Regions from separate parts of the Homo sapiens genome. Here regions 1, 2, 3 and 5 are each linked to region 4. The links are contacts of gene promoters, found by promoter capture Hi-C in blood cells and fetal thymus (Javierre and others, 2016). All regions are on one chromosome and are shown on one strand. The core of a region is centred on a gene start or on the middle of the fragment in contact, and the rest is flanking DNA. Distances in the headings are between cores, read along the strand shown.

Region 1 (2,717 bases), core at 188-2,687, 3.9 Mb after region 4:
TACCCGCTGTTTGTAACACTGTATTGTATGACTATTAGTTTAGTATGTGTCTCCTCCGTTAGACTGTAAGCTCTATTGGAGTAGAGACAATTCCATCACTAGACTGTAAGCTCTATAGGAGTAGAGACTATTCCATCCCCAATGGTAGGTACTCAATAAATATTTGCTCAAGAAAATGGGAAATGTTGAATGTGTACAGACACATAACATTTTCCATTCAAGTTCAAGACAAAGATAACCACATACCTGGACCTCCTAGGGTTAGGGACTCCTGCGCCCGTAAGAAACATGCTGCCCTCAGATTCTCAATGGGTCGGTGAAGTTAAGAACAGCTCACTCTAACATTCTCCAGCCTACCTCACCTTTTCCCTGCCATCCTTCCCTCAACAACTACAACAGCCTCACATTTAGTATTAATGGTATGTGCTTTGGTTTTAGCAATCTTTTAAAAACACAAAACAGGGTCAACCTCCTCGGAAAAGCCAGTCAGAGACTATCTAATGCCCTCAGAGCAAAGTCCAAACTCTGTTGGGGGTGGGGGAGTTGTAGGCCTTGTCTACTTCTTCATCCTCATGTGCCCTCATTTGTTCCCTCTTCCCCACCTCACCCCACCCCACCTGGACAGCCCAGCAGCGCAGACTAGGGGTTCTGGGTTTAGGGTTCCCAGGCAATAGCAGGGTGTTTTCTCATGCCTAGACTCATGCAGTGCCCTCTGCCAGTCCTCTCCTTTGCACCCAGCAATTTCGGGTGTCTTTATGCCTCAGCTTAGATATCTCTCTGGGGTTCGGTGCTCCTCCTTGGGGCGCCCATAGGCTGCATCTGTCCCTGACAAGGCACACAAGATATTGAACTATAGTTGCTTGGTTACGGACAGTCGTCTCTGTGAGCTTTGAGGGCAACTGCCATGTATTATGCATCTTTTGAATCCCCCTAGCCTAGCCGGGTGCTAGCCCAAGTTAGGTGCTTATTACAGATTTGTTCAGTTAGCGAATGAATCAATGAATAAACTGGCAATTCGTGTCTGGTTCATGGGCACCAAAAACCGTGCGAAATGGATAAATGAGCAGGTAATGGCAGTACAAAGTTCGGATCTAGAGAAAGATCCAGATTAGGGAGTTCAGAGATGAGTAAAACGCAGACCCAGCCATCAGAGAATTAACAAGGAAGATAAATCTCTTCAAGAAGCCAGCCGGAAGGATTAAAAGAGAGTCGTCCAAGTCCCGGCCGGCCCCGGGGGCGGGTCCCTGTCTAGCCCCGCATGCTCCGCGCCAATGGGCGGTATTGTTGATCACGAGTCTCCGCCCCCTTCGCCTTGAGGGGCGGGGCCGGCCACTCCCGGAGAGGGGACTACGTTTCCCGGCGCGCCGCGCGGCCGGAGCGAAAGAGGAGCCGGAAGTGTGGCGCGCGAGGTCTAAGGGCGCGAGGGAAGTGGCGGGCGGGGACTAAGGCGGGGCGTGCAGGTAGCCGGCCGGCCGGGGGTCGCGGGTATGGCCGAGGCCAGGAAGCGGCGGGAGCTACTTCCCCTGATCTACCACCATCTGCTGCGGGCTGGCTATGTGCGTGCGGCGCGGGAAGTGAAGGAGCAGAGCGGCCAGGTAAGCGTTCGTGGGCCGTGTGCGAGGGCCGCGTGCAAGATGTGGAGATCAGCGGCCCGCGGCCCGCGCCCCGTCCCCAGGCGACCCGGCAGGCGCCCGGAGCCGGGTCCCGCAGTGCTCGACGGCGCGGCCAGGGGTACCGGAGGAGCCGCAATCTCTGCCTTCCCACTGCGACTTCAGTTCCCCTGGGCCTCACTTTCCTCATCCGGGCAGTGGGTTGGGCCAGAAAGTGTGCTCGCAGGGGCCGAACTTTGTAATTCCCGCTTCCCTTACCTCCACGCCCTTCCTGGTAGCGGGTATTTTAAGTTTCCTAAGTCTCCCGCCACGTGGCTAGGCTCTGCGCGGCCCCCCCTGGGGCAAGGAGGTTGCTGCGAGTCTCGGGGGTGGATTGCGACCAGCCCCTCGGGGGAGCGCCTGGAAAAGGGACCCTACAGCCTCTTAGTTGAGCTGGAACTCAGGCCTTTAGCGATTGTCTGTACTGAGACGGTCAGCTTTGGTACTCGAACTCGTGGTACAGTCATTTCTTACTTGATTAATTCAACTGTTAATCCGGTACTCAGGGTGCTTCCTGGTGTTCGAATGGTGAGCACCATCTCTCAGCCCTCCTGGAGCTTACACTCTAGTAAGGTAGACAAATCAAAGAATCACAAAAGTGACTATATGCTTAGCACCGCAATAAGTGTTAAGAATGAGAGGGATGGGCCGGGCACGGTAGCTCACGCCTGTAATCCCAGCACTTAGGGAGGCCGAGACTAGCGGATCACCTGAGGTCAGAAGTTCGAGACCAGCCTGGCCAACATGGTGAAACACCGTTTCTACTAAAAATACAAAAATTAGCTGGGCATGTTGGCGCACGCCTGTAATCCTGGCTACTCATGTGGCTGAGGCACAAGAATTGCTTGAACCCGGGAGGCAGAGGTTGCAATGAGTCAAGATCGTGCCACTGCACTCCAGCCTGGGCGATAAAGCGAGACTCTGCCTCAAAAAAAAAAGAGAGATGGATGGCAGATTGCCCTGGTCAGGAATAGCTGAGGTGTAAATGCCTTGTGGTGGGAGGGAACTTGTGTACACACTGGCCTGGAGAAAGTCCACTCTCTTGAGCCCAGGAATTTGAGGATACAG
Region 2 (2,700 bases), core at 60-2,559, 3.4 Mb before region 4:
AGCATTTCCTCCTCTTGTTGCTTGCTTGTTACCCAAAATACAGTAGTTCCTTCTAGAAGCTTGAAGAAATTTGGCAGATCCTACCCTCTGATGGTCTATTGTGGTCTAGAGAGTCAGTGTTATCCTGATTTGAGGTTGAATTTTTCTTAAGGTCAAACAACAAAGCTTCCTGAATTATAACTATGGCAACAGTGTTTATGTAACACACAAATCAAAGTCACGGGGTAGCGGAGGAGAAGCACCCACAACAATCAGTGTTAATAATCCCAGAACAGTTAGCCTGTGCCTAATTCACCAGAACCAAAAACAAGTTAAAATAAATGGCCTACTCCTTCACTGGTTATTGGGGTGTGACCTACCACCTACATGCTCCAGGAGGAGCTGTTTCACCTTTTCTCTTGAAACTATATCAGCTTAATTTGAAATTTCTCACAGAGAACTGCGGTAAGTGCCAGTGACACTCAAAATGTGAAAGCATTGCCATAAGGATAATTTGCTCATCAAGGTCATCATGACCTGCCTCTGACCTGCAGAGAAAGACCCAGACGAAGGAATGCGCATCCTTAAGCCCCTTGTCCTTTAATGAGGAATAATTTCTTGGACACTGAATATATGCAAACATTTAGATGCCGCATAGATCACTTCCCCTAAACCCTGCCCCATAGAAATGTAAAATTAACCTTGATTGGAGATTGGAAATGATAAGAATGAAAAATTTTATTTGGAAGTATTAAATTCTGTAGAATATAGACTGTAGGAGCAGTAAGAGATCAAAGAAACGAGAGATTAAGGTTGTCTGCAGCCATCAAGTAAGTTAGGAAATATTTGTGGAGTAAGGAAAAGGGAAATAACGTTTTTGAGCACCTCCAGTCCCTGTGATAACTATTTTAAATTCTGTTAATACTCTCATAAGTATTATTACTTAGCTCTACTTTGCAATGAGAAAGCAGACTCGGAAATGTTGAATGATTATCTAAGGGCGCATAGTTCAAAAGTGGTAGAACCAGGTGACAAAATAAAAACTTCATCCAGATTAAATTTAAAGGAGTTTAATTGAGCTATGAACAATTTGCGAATTGGGCAGCCCCCAGAATCACCACACATTCAGAGAGACTCCAGGGATGCCTCGTGGTCAGAACAAATTTATAGACAAAAAAAAAAAAAAAAAAAAAGGAAAGTGACGTACGGAAATCAGAAGTAAGGTACAAAAACAACTGGATTGGTTACAGCTTGGTGTTTGCCTTATTTGAACATAGTTTGAACACTCATCAGTGTATAAGTGGTTGAGGTATGGCTGCTGGGATTGGCCAAGACTCAGCTGTTGTTATAGGTAAATTTTCCTAAGTTAGGTTTTCAACCTTGTCTACCTATTAAGTTAGGTTACAGTTAGTCCACAAGGACTCAGATATAGGAGCATGGAGTCCTTCTCAGGCCATATTTAGTTTGCTTTAACACAGACCTTAATGCCAAGTTTCCAAAGCCACAGCATGCTCCATCCACCACTTGACTCAACTTCATCCAAATCCATTTCTCCCTGTTTTGGAATCTGTCCAGGGCCTATACCAGTGAAAGGGTTAGGCTGACAATGATTAAACCCCAAATGCAGCGAAATTAATCAGCCCAGGAATGCCCGGGATGCCTTCTAGACAGAAGGGGGCTTAGGTCTGTGTGTAAGAGGATGCTGGGTCAGCCTCCTGCTTTAGTGGACCATGAAGAGCTCCTGTCAGTCATTTATGTTCGGCTGAAATCTGCCTTCCTGGGGACTCCACCCTGACCTTCATCTCTGTTCAGCACAATAAGATTTCCCCTTTGTCACATCACTGCCCTTTGAGAATCTGAAGACTGGTATTGTGATGTTTTGAAGCCTTCTCTTCTCCAACCAACACTGTGGTTTAGGGAAACACATCTTGCAGAGCAAGTGAGCAGAGCCAGAGGGTGGAGCCAACAAGAACCAGGATATAGCCAATGTCAAGGTCTAGGTGAGAAGGCAAAAACAATCTGACCTTGGGCAATAGAAGAAGAAGTGGGGATGAGGAATAGGTTCAAGACATATGAAAGTAATAGAAGTGATACAACTAGGAACTGATTGGATATGTGAGGTAGAAGGAATGGGAAATTCAAGGATGACAGCACAGTTTCTCGTTCAACTTTGTTGCACATTTTTCTCCTTCACTCTAGAGTTCCCTATAAAGCACAAGTAGGCTTTTCTGTCATGCACTTAAAAAAAAAATTACCACAACCCTTGTCTGTGAGCAACAGAAACACAACTAAAAAATAAAAAGTATGTTATTGATATACTATAGAAAGAGCAGGGATGAGCTTCTGATATGTTAAGATAAAAGGGCTCAAATGATACCATCAGAATCCCATGTCCCTTCATTCATGGCCCTGCATTTCTTTGTTTGACCTTTTCTGCTCAAGGCTTTGCCTGTGTGGTAGCCGAAGTTGGCCTCAAAAGCTTCAGGTATGCATCCTGTTTTCCTAGCAACACAAGGCCTCATTTCCCATAGTTGTAATAAAAAATGAGTGAGTGTCATCGGCTGAGTTTGGCTTGGGCCAATCATATGTGCAGTAGGATGCATAGTCTGGATCACATGCAACAAACCTGAAGATGGAGTTGGGATCAGCCCCACCCAAACCATATGAACTTGCCTTGGCAGGGAGGTGGCTCCCCAAGGAAAATGAGGGTGGTATCCCTGG
Region 3 (2,700 bases), core at 32-2,531, 4.5 Mb before region 4:
AGTGCCACTGGCAGGCTTAATTCATGAACAAGAGAGGAAAAACTGGAGGGGAGTGGCAAATGAAGGAATACAAGAAGCAGAAGAGGAAAGGAGAAAAAAACAAAACAAAAAACAAACTGAAGAGATTGTTTGTTATGGGGCATGGTGTCCTGTACTTTCATATGACCTTGGTGTTCCTCCTTAGCTCCTCCCATAGCTGAGGGCAGACAGATAAAAAGTCCTCAGTCATTGCTGGGGACATGCAAATACTCCTTTAACCACATGGCTCAGTTAGCCTGCCCTAGGAGAGTAACATGCACTTGTAGATTAGGATTGGCTATATGTTAGGATATGTTTGACTTAAGCAGTGATCATGGAAATTCAGAATTTTAATTTGGAGAGGGTCCTAACACCATCTTTTGTATTTCTTTTCTGCAGATGGCAGGATTTTCATAATATATGTAGTATGAGTTCCACATCTTGGCCTCTTACCCAGCTTCAGCAGTCTCAGCTCCACCAGTTAGAGAATAAATGGGATTTGCATGAACTCCACTCTGAGCTGAAATACAGACTGCGGTGTTAATATCCTTTTCTTCTGATTGTTATTAACAGGTACTAACTGACCTCAAGTAGAACATGTAATTGTGTCTTAGATAGGGATGCAGCTTAAGCAGAGCCATGAACTAACATCTCCTAGAAAAAAAGTGTTTTTTGAAAATGAAATCATTTTTAATTTCATAGTATGACCTTTTAAAATGTAAAAAATCCTAACTTTTTACTTATGTACATTTTAATTAAAAATATTTTAGTTGTGAGGGAGGATATTTGCAAATGCAATTGTAGTTCAATATTTTAATTGACTGGTAGTTTTGTTTTATTAAAATGATTTTTGTAAATTCTCATTGCATATTTTTTTCACATTTAAATTATCTGAAATTGCTGTATCTTTCAGTTGATGCTATTTTAAAAAACATTGATTCATACTTTATTTTTTGAGACAAGGTCTTGCTCTGTCCCCCAGGCTGGAGTGCAGTGGTGCAAACACGGCTCACTGCAGCCTCAGCATCCAAGGCTCAAGCGATCCTCCTGCCACAGTCTCCTGAGTAGCTGGGACTACAGGCACACACCACCACACCTGGCTAATTTTTTATAGAGACAGGATCTTGCTATGTTGCCAAGGCTGATCTCAAACTGCTGGCCTCAAGTGATCCTCCTGCCTTGGCCTCCCAAAGTGCTGGGATTACGGGCATGAGCCACCATATCCAGCCAGTTCATACTTTAATTGTAGCTAATTTCTTTTTCTTTCTTTCTTTCTTTCTTTCTTTCTTTCTTTCTTTCTTTCTTTCCTTTCTTTCTTCTTTCTTTCTTTCCTTTTTTTTTTTTTTTTTTTTTTGGAGACAGAGTCTGTCTCTGTCACCCAGGCTGGAATGCAGTGGTGCAATCTCAGCTCACTGCAACCTCTGCCTCCTGGATTCTAGTGATTCTCTAGTCTCGTGCCTCAGCCACCGAGTAGCTGGGATTACATGCGTGTACCACAATGCCCGGCTAATTTTTTTATTTTTAGTAGAGATGGGGTTTTGCTGTGTTGGCCAGGCTAGTCTTGAACTCTTGGCCTCAAGTGATCTGCCTGCCTTGGTCTCCCAAAGTGCTGGGATTAAAGACTTGAGCCACTGTGCCTGGGCCTTGTAGCTAAATTCTTAGTATTACCTAAAATAATGGTAAATCTTTCTTAAAATTATTATCTTTTAAATATTCTTGAGTCATAATGGTGAATCTTTAAATTGGTGACTGCTTGGATTTGACAAAATCTATTATTTCAAAAATTTAATATTATTTTGCTGCTTGCTCAGTTATCTAATTTTCTTCCATAATATCTATGCCTGTAACATTCTCAAGCACTGTTTTCTCACCTGGGAGCAATTTTGCCTCCAACCCCCATCCTGCCCCAGGACCTGGCGCTATTTGGAGATATTTTTTTTTTTGAGACAGGGTCCCACTTTGTCACTCAGGCTGGAGTGCAGTGGTGCTATCATGGCTCACTGCAGCCTCGACCTCCCAGGCTCAAGTGATCCTCCCATGTCAGCTCCCCAAGTAGCTGGGACCACAGGCAAGCACCACCACACCTGGCTAGATATTTTCAGTTGTCACAGCTCTTGTGGGTGGAAGCGGGCCACTATTGGGTATCTAGTGGGTAAAAGCCAGGGGATGCTGTTAAGATTCTATAATGCACAACACAGCTCTCCAACAACAATTATTTACTTCAAAATGTCAATAGAGCTGAAGCTAAGAAAACTTGCCCTAAAGATTCCTGTGGATTTAAAAAATTTACTTTTTTGTTTTTTTGAGACAGAGTCTGACTCTGTCGCCCAGGCTGGAGTGCAATGGTGCAATCTCAGCTCACTGCAACCTCTGCCTCCCACGTTCAAGCAGTTCTCCTGCCTCAACCTCCCGAGTAGCTGGGATTACAGGGGTGAGCCACCACACCCAGCTAATTTTTGTATTTTTAGTAGAGATGGGGTTTCACCACGTTGGCCAGGCTGGTCTCGAACTCCTGACTGCAGGTGATTTGCCCGCCTCGGCCTACCAAAGTGTTGGGATTACAGGCACGAGCCACCGCGCCTGGCAAATTAACTTAAGAAAGGAGTGTAATATACTTTGACCACTTTTGCGAACCAGGCACATTGCTAGGTTCAGTGGACAAGTCAAAGTAAATTTGTGATT
Region 4 (2,700 bases), core at 5-2,504:
GTCTAGGCCTCCCAAAGTGCTGGGATTACAGGTTTGGGCCACCGCGCCCGGCCTATACCATGCTTCTTAACCATGCATCAGCTGATGGTCATTGGGTTGTTACAATACTTTTTGGCTATTATGAATATTGCTGCTGTGAACATTTGTGCACATGTTTTTATGTGGATCCAATTATTTAGGCTTACAGTATTTAAGAGTGCTGCTTTGCTACTACGCTGACTGGGGTTAAGACCAGGCTCTGCTATTTAGTAGATGTGTGACCTTGGGCAAGTTACTTAACTTCTCTGTGCCTCAAGCTCATCTACAAACAGTGACTATGTTACCCACCTCCTAGCAATTTTTGAATCTTAAAAGAGTTAACGTACCTGACATACTTAGATCCGGGTTTGCTACATGGTTAGGTCCAAGTAAAATTTATCTATTAGTATTATTTTAATATTTTTACGACTTTAATAAAAGGGCTCATCTTCATTGTGCCTTTGAAACCCCAAATCCAAAACTTTTTTTTTTGTTAATTAGAAAAACTAAATAAATATTCAGAATTGTCTGGTATTCTGGGTGTGCTAATTTCAGACAAGCACATTTTGAGATCGAGGGAGACGTGGTTAAGCTGTAAATTGCAAAGAGGCTTGCCTTCGCCAATTTACCTTTCTTAATGCAGCAACTTATAACACCTATTGGCTTGCAACGGTTTAGTATAATTTGGGAGGTATTCTTGTAATTAATAATATATTATTTAATAACATGGATATAGAGCTGAGTGGTGACTTAAGACTCCTGCTACTGTAAAGCTAGGAAATAGCGGCTTTCCACAGCAACTGTGCAATCGGTTTAGGCGCGGCCCAGGTCGATTTTGATTGGCTTGCCCAGTGGAAATGCTCTCCGCCTGAGCTACTACTGGCCAATATGGCTCCACAATTGGCTCTCCTGGAAGCCGACAGACACGTGGCTACCGCAGGCTGAGCCGAACTTGGGAGGACTTAGTTCTGCTTACCGCGAGAGGGCGCCGGCGGTTCCTCACTGCTAAAATCTCATTTCCCATAAAGCCCCCGAGTCACCAATCAACTGGCTGTCTTCATACCGCTTTCAAAGTCGGCGGGCGCCTTGCCCAATAGCAAAGAACATATCGCCCCCATTTCGAAGATTGATGGAAAGTTTGACCAACCGCATCTCAGACTTCTGCTGTCTCCGCCTCTCTCGTTGGGGATTGACGATTTTTCTAGCCAATAGGAGACGTCGGGTCGGCGGGTGGATGAACGCGGCCCTCTGTAATGGCGGAGCGTGGCGGGGACGGGGGCGAGAGTGAACGATTCAACCCGGGGGAGCTCAGGTAAGGAACGCTGCCCTCCTTCACATCTCTGCTCACGAGAGCCCCAGAGGCTAGACGCTAGACCTGCCATGTGGAGATCCGGGGCGGACGGTGGGTAGCGGAGCCGGGCGGCCCGGGCCGGGACCGCATGGGGTTTAAGAAGGGGGAAGGGGAAGGTGGCTTGAATGAGAGCCGGGCCCGGGCTGGGCCAGGGCCTCCTGCGCGTTCCCTGGCTGCTTCCTAGTGCTTTCTTGGGGCCTCGCCGCCTCTCGCGGCCTGCAGCCCTCTGGCCGGGCGCGGTGCTCCCGCCTTTGGGCCCCGCCTCAGCCGCGTGTCGCCTCCGTCTCGGCCGACCTGAGTCTGTCCCCAGGCCGCGCTCCGCTGCGGGCCTGATTTTCCTCATCGACGTCTCTGCACTCCGCAGTTACTTTCCCTGTACCCCTCGCCACTTCTGGCTAAGCCTTCTCCACGCCCTCCGCGGCTCTTTGGGCTCCCCACGTTTGCCCTTTCATTTCATCCCCCTCATTGCTTGCCTTTCTTAACTTCTGTGGCTTTTCTTCCTTTTTTCATCCCTTTATTCCTTATTATCCTGTAGTTGTGAGTAACAACAACAGTAGCAACCCCTTATTAGGCACTTACCGTGTGCCAGTAAACCCTTTACTTAGGTTTGTCTCATTTAATCCTCACAACCACCCTTTGGAGTAGTTGCTATTAACATTTTGCAGGCCACAGACCAGAGGGGTCTTCAGTTGTTACTCGCCCATCTTACAGGTGAGATAACAGCCTCGTGGAGGTTGAGTCAGTAGAATAAGATTGCATAGGCGGATTTGTGGCTCCAGGAAGTGGCTTGAACTCAGGCAGTCAGGTTTCAGAGCCTGCAATCCCAATTGGCGTTCTATTCGTCTACTACTCATGCCATTTCCTTGAACAGTGCAGTGACCTTTTTTTCCCCTGGAACCTCAGTGTCTATGAGTTTGTAATTAAAATTTGGTAAAATGAGAGTGACCTGGAGAAATCTTTTGGTCAGTGGTTTTTGAGGAAAAGAGGTATTATGCTTTATGTGTATTTGGTACTTTGGTTTTTTTCTGTATGGGAGAAATGGCATTTCAGATGTTCAGCTCCCATTCTGAATTGTGCTGTTGTCAACGTTTGAAAATGAAAAAGAGCAGGGTAGATTATGAAGACTCTGTTGATACTGTCTTGAACTTAAGATGAAATTGTGTAAGGAAATGGGTATTGTTATTCAAGGTTTTAGAAGAGGAAAATGCCTTTCAGATTCTGTATGGTCGCACACACAAATCTCCACTTTGGCAGAAATGAAATTTTGTTTTATTTCAGAGATGAATCTGAAATCCTTTAAACTCCATATGTATACAGTATTAATGAGTGAT
Region 5 (2,719 bases), core at 1-2,500, 3.0 Mb before region 4:
TGGGTGGGGGGAGAGCCCCTATTTAAGAAAGTCTCCCATTGCCCAGCTGACAAGCCAGCCCTCCGCCCCGCGCCGGGCTCCGCGGGTCGAGGTTCCGGGCGCGCGTGCCCCGTCCCGGTCCCAGCTGCTTCGGCCGCTCCGGCTGCGGCGTCTCCTTCCACCCACAGAATCCGTCCCCGACGGGCAGGCGGTGACTCGGGCTCCCGTCACAGACACGAGCTCGCAAAATGGAGGAGGCGGCGGCGGAGGGAAGAGAGCGCGGACACGCGAAAGGGCAGCCCGGCCTGGGCGAGCGAGCGGGACCGAGCGGGGAGCGGGTGGAGGCGGCGCCACGGCGCGCACACACTCGCACACACGCGCTCCCACTCCACCCCCGGCCGCTCCCCGCCCGAGGGGCCGCGCGGCGGCCGCGGGGAACGATGCAACCTGTTGGTGACGCTTGGCAACTGCAGGGGCGCCCGCGGTCCCTGCCCCCACGCCCTCCGCGCGGGCCCCGCCACCCCGGCCCCGACGGCGCCTGCACGCCCGCGTCCCCTGGCGTGGCCGCCCCGCCCGGTGCGCCGCGCTTCGCCCCCCGCCCCCAACTCCCCAGGAAAAAGGGTGGCGGCGGCAGCGGCGGGGGCCGACCTGGTCTCTCTGGGGCGGCGTTAAGAGGGCCACCGAGTTTCTCCAGTTTCTTTTCTCGCTACCTCCTTCCCGCCCCCGCCCAGCTCCGCGGCTCCAGACCCACTCGGGAGCTCGCTCTGCCCCTTGGCGGCAAGCGCCGCCAGTGCCCCTGCGGGTGACAGCGGGCGGGCCACAAGAGCCGGGGCGCCTCCCGCGGCTGAGCTGCGTGAGTGGCCCGCGCCGCCGCCGCCGGGCCGAGTTGCGTGAAGTGTGTCACTTCGAAAGGGGCTACGGGGTTGCACGGAAACGGTGCCGCAGCGTCTCGGCCGCGCTCGGGGCCGGGCGGCCTGACACGCCCTCTGGGGAGGCTTCAGGGAAGGGACGGGATAGCGGGGGTCGGCGCATACGTACTTTGGGCCCGGGGGGAGTCGCGTGCCGGCAGGTCCCCCACCACCGCATCATCTGGGCGGCCGGGTCTTCAGCTGCCGCCGCCGCGCTCTCGCACTGGGAGAGAAGTTGCAAAGCAGAACCCACCCTCCCCCGCGCCCCGACCGTCCCCCACCCTCTTCCCCGAGTCTGCGAGGCGGCGGCGGCGGCAGAAGGAGGCGCCGCCTGCCAAGTTCAACCCCCACCCCTCCCGCCCAATGTGCTCACACTCGAAGGAAGTTGCACGCCAAATGCAAAACCTCCAGCGAGCTGGATTTCTTTGCACTTTTTTTTTATTATTATGATTAAGGAAAGCAGGGGGCGGCAGGCTTAAAAGCAAGTTGCAGGCGAAATAGTAAGTTGCTGGCGAAATATAGCCCCCCTTCCGAAACTCCTGACCTCTTCTTCCACCCCGGCCAGGGCCCGCGTCCAAGTTCCCGGTGCAGGCCCCACCCCCGAATCTTGACATTTGCTGCCCTCGACTCTGTGCGTTGCTCACCCTATCACGTTCATAGGACCCCTGCCCCTACAAATAAAACAAAATACAGGCAGCTTTAAAATGCCAGCGTTCAACTCCCTACAGATGTTCCTGTTAGGAGCTTCCCCCTCAGTCCAAGGGGAAGGGAACTCGTGGTCCGTCCTGAGAAAGGAGAGGGCCGTGGGGCGAGGGGTGCCCGTGCGGGAAGCCCCCGCCCCAGCTCCCTTCCCCAGCTCGCCGCGTCGGGAAGGCTTGGACGATGCCGGGACCGAGCCTCCTACCTTGTGCGGCACAGATTATGATTTTTGTGACTCTGGGAAAGGTTGTGCTGTGTGGGTTTAGGGTTTGGGGAGGTAACTTTTGCGCCCCCACAGGTGACATCGCTTGCCAGCTCCTGACACGGGCGGGGGCTGCCGCAGCTCCACCTAATCCTGCTCGGGCGCTCGGCCACAGCCACTCTCTCACCTCCCGCCGCGCTCAGACTGACGGCGGCTCCCCCTGCTCTGACATCTTGAAGACGATTGGGGAAGCGCGTCCCGGAAGCCGCCCGCCGCCATCTTGGTAGGGTACAGTGTCGCCAGCCCGTCCCCGCGGCCACCATCTTGGCAAAGGTTCGCGATCGCGGGTAGCCTAAGCCGTCCTTCCTTGGTTCTCAAGGGTAAACGGTTCCCTGTGCATTGTCTGATGTGAAAGGAAAGAAGTAGGCTTTCAGCAAGCCTCTTGTCCGGAGACGATCTACGGGGGCCGCCTCCAGAGGATTCTGGAGCCGCCATCTTGGCAAAGGAAGAGATACTCGCCACCTCGGAAAAGAAGAGGGAACCAACCGTATGCCAACGTAGAACCCTCAGCCAGAAGAATTTTTATGAAGGGCGCTGAGCAACTCCATGTTAACAAAACCCCCTTCTGGACCCAGAAGGCAGACTCCGCTTCTCCTGTCCCTTGGCACAAGTCAACTAGAAGGAGGCCCTTGCTTTGGATGCTCATCTGTGAGGCTATGAGAACACTGCTTGACCTAGTTGCCCGTTTTTCCAATTTCTGAGCCTCAAGCACTAGAATGAGATGTCTTTCGTTAATTTGGCCCCTAAACTACCAACAGTTTCATGGGAAACAAATCAAGACCCAACCCTACAATAATGTTTTACACGTTTTAAAAGTGAGTTAAATAGCCCATGCTAATAATTATCCTTGTACACTGCTTAAAATGATTAA

What was found. The method cuts DNA at HindIII sites, captures the fragments that hold promoters and counts their contacts. A CHiCAGO score of 5 or more calls a contact.
Region 1: a contact is called between the fragment with the promoter of TCOF1 here and the fragment with the promoter of TCERG1 in region 4, in 1 of 17 cell types (neutrophils). The highest score is 5.1, in neutrophils.
Region 2: a fragment that was not itself captured here is called in contact with the fragment with the promoter of TCERG1 in region 4 in 1 of 17 cell types (naive CD8 T cells); the score reaches 5.4 in naive CD8 T cells.
Region 3: a contact is called between a fragment that was not itself captured here and the fragment with the promoter of TCERG1 in region 4, in 2 of 17 cell types (total B cells and naive B cells). The highest score is 8.8, in total B cells.
Region 5: a fragment that was not itself captured here is called in contact with the fragment with the promoter of TCERG1 in region 4 in 1 of 17 cell types (non-activated CD4 T cells); the score reaches 7.7 in non-activated CD4 T cells.

Annotation. Positions count from the first base shown.
Region 1 is chr5:150,356,260-150,358,976 of GRCh38, forward strand. TCOF1 (treacle ribosome biogenesis factor 1) reads left to right here and starts at 1,438. Exons shown (of 27, transcript NM_001371623.1): 1 at 1,438-1,595. The coding sequence starts at 1,488. It overlaps LOC105378226 (a long non-coding RNA gene), which reads right to left and starts at 1,161. Exons shown (of 4, transcript XR_944407.3): 1 at 247-1,161. RefSeq lists an enhancer at 456-625 and silencers at 1,226-1,565, 1,646-1,865. The HindIII fragment of the contact is 5,465 bases long and covers 1-2,717 here.
Region 2 is chr5:143,002,867-143,005,566 of GRCh38, forward strand. The region is part of intron 11 of ARHGAP26 (Rho GTPase activating protein 26); the gene reads left to right. Among named protein-coding and RNA genes, the nearest start is that of ARHGAP26-AS1, 140 kb to the left of the region's middle. The HindIII fragment of the contact is 2,293 bases long and covers 164-2,456 here.
Region 3 is chr5:141,970,287-141,972,986 of GRCh38, forward strand. It overlaps RNF14 (ring finger protein 14), which reads left to right. Exons shown (of 9, transcript NM_004290.5): 2 at 418-591. Among named protein-coding and RNA genes, the nearest start is that of RNF14, 2.5 kb to the left of the region's middle. The HindIII fragment of the contact is 3,286 bases long and covers 1-2,700 here.
Region 4 is chr5:146,446,079-146,448,778 of GRCh38, forward strand. TCERG1 (transcription elongation regulator 1) reads left to right here and starts at 1,255. Exons shown (of 23, transcript NM_001382548.1): 1 at 1,255-1,330. The coding sequence starts at 1,272. RefSeq lists an enhancer at 918-1,625 and a silencer at 1,544-1,623. The HindIII fragment of the contact is 4,342 bases long and covers 1-2,700 here.
Region 5 is chr5:143,403,359-143,406,077 of GRCh38, forward strand. NR3C1 (nuclear receptor subfamily 3 group C member 1) reads right to left here and starts at 328. Exons shown (of 9, transcript NM_000176.3): 1 at 1-328. It overlaps LOC128966704, which reads right to left. Exons shown (of 2, transcript XM_054328421.1): 1 at 1,976-2,719; 2 at 1,308-1,558. The coding sequence starts at 2,283. The coding sequence ends at 1,528. RefSeq lists a silencer at 1-1,223 and enhancers at 1,229-1,996, 1,274-1,343, 1,384-1,523, 1,924-2,163, 1,997-2,719 and 1 more. The HindIII fragment of the contact is 7,002 bases long and covers 1-2,719 here.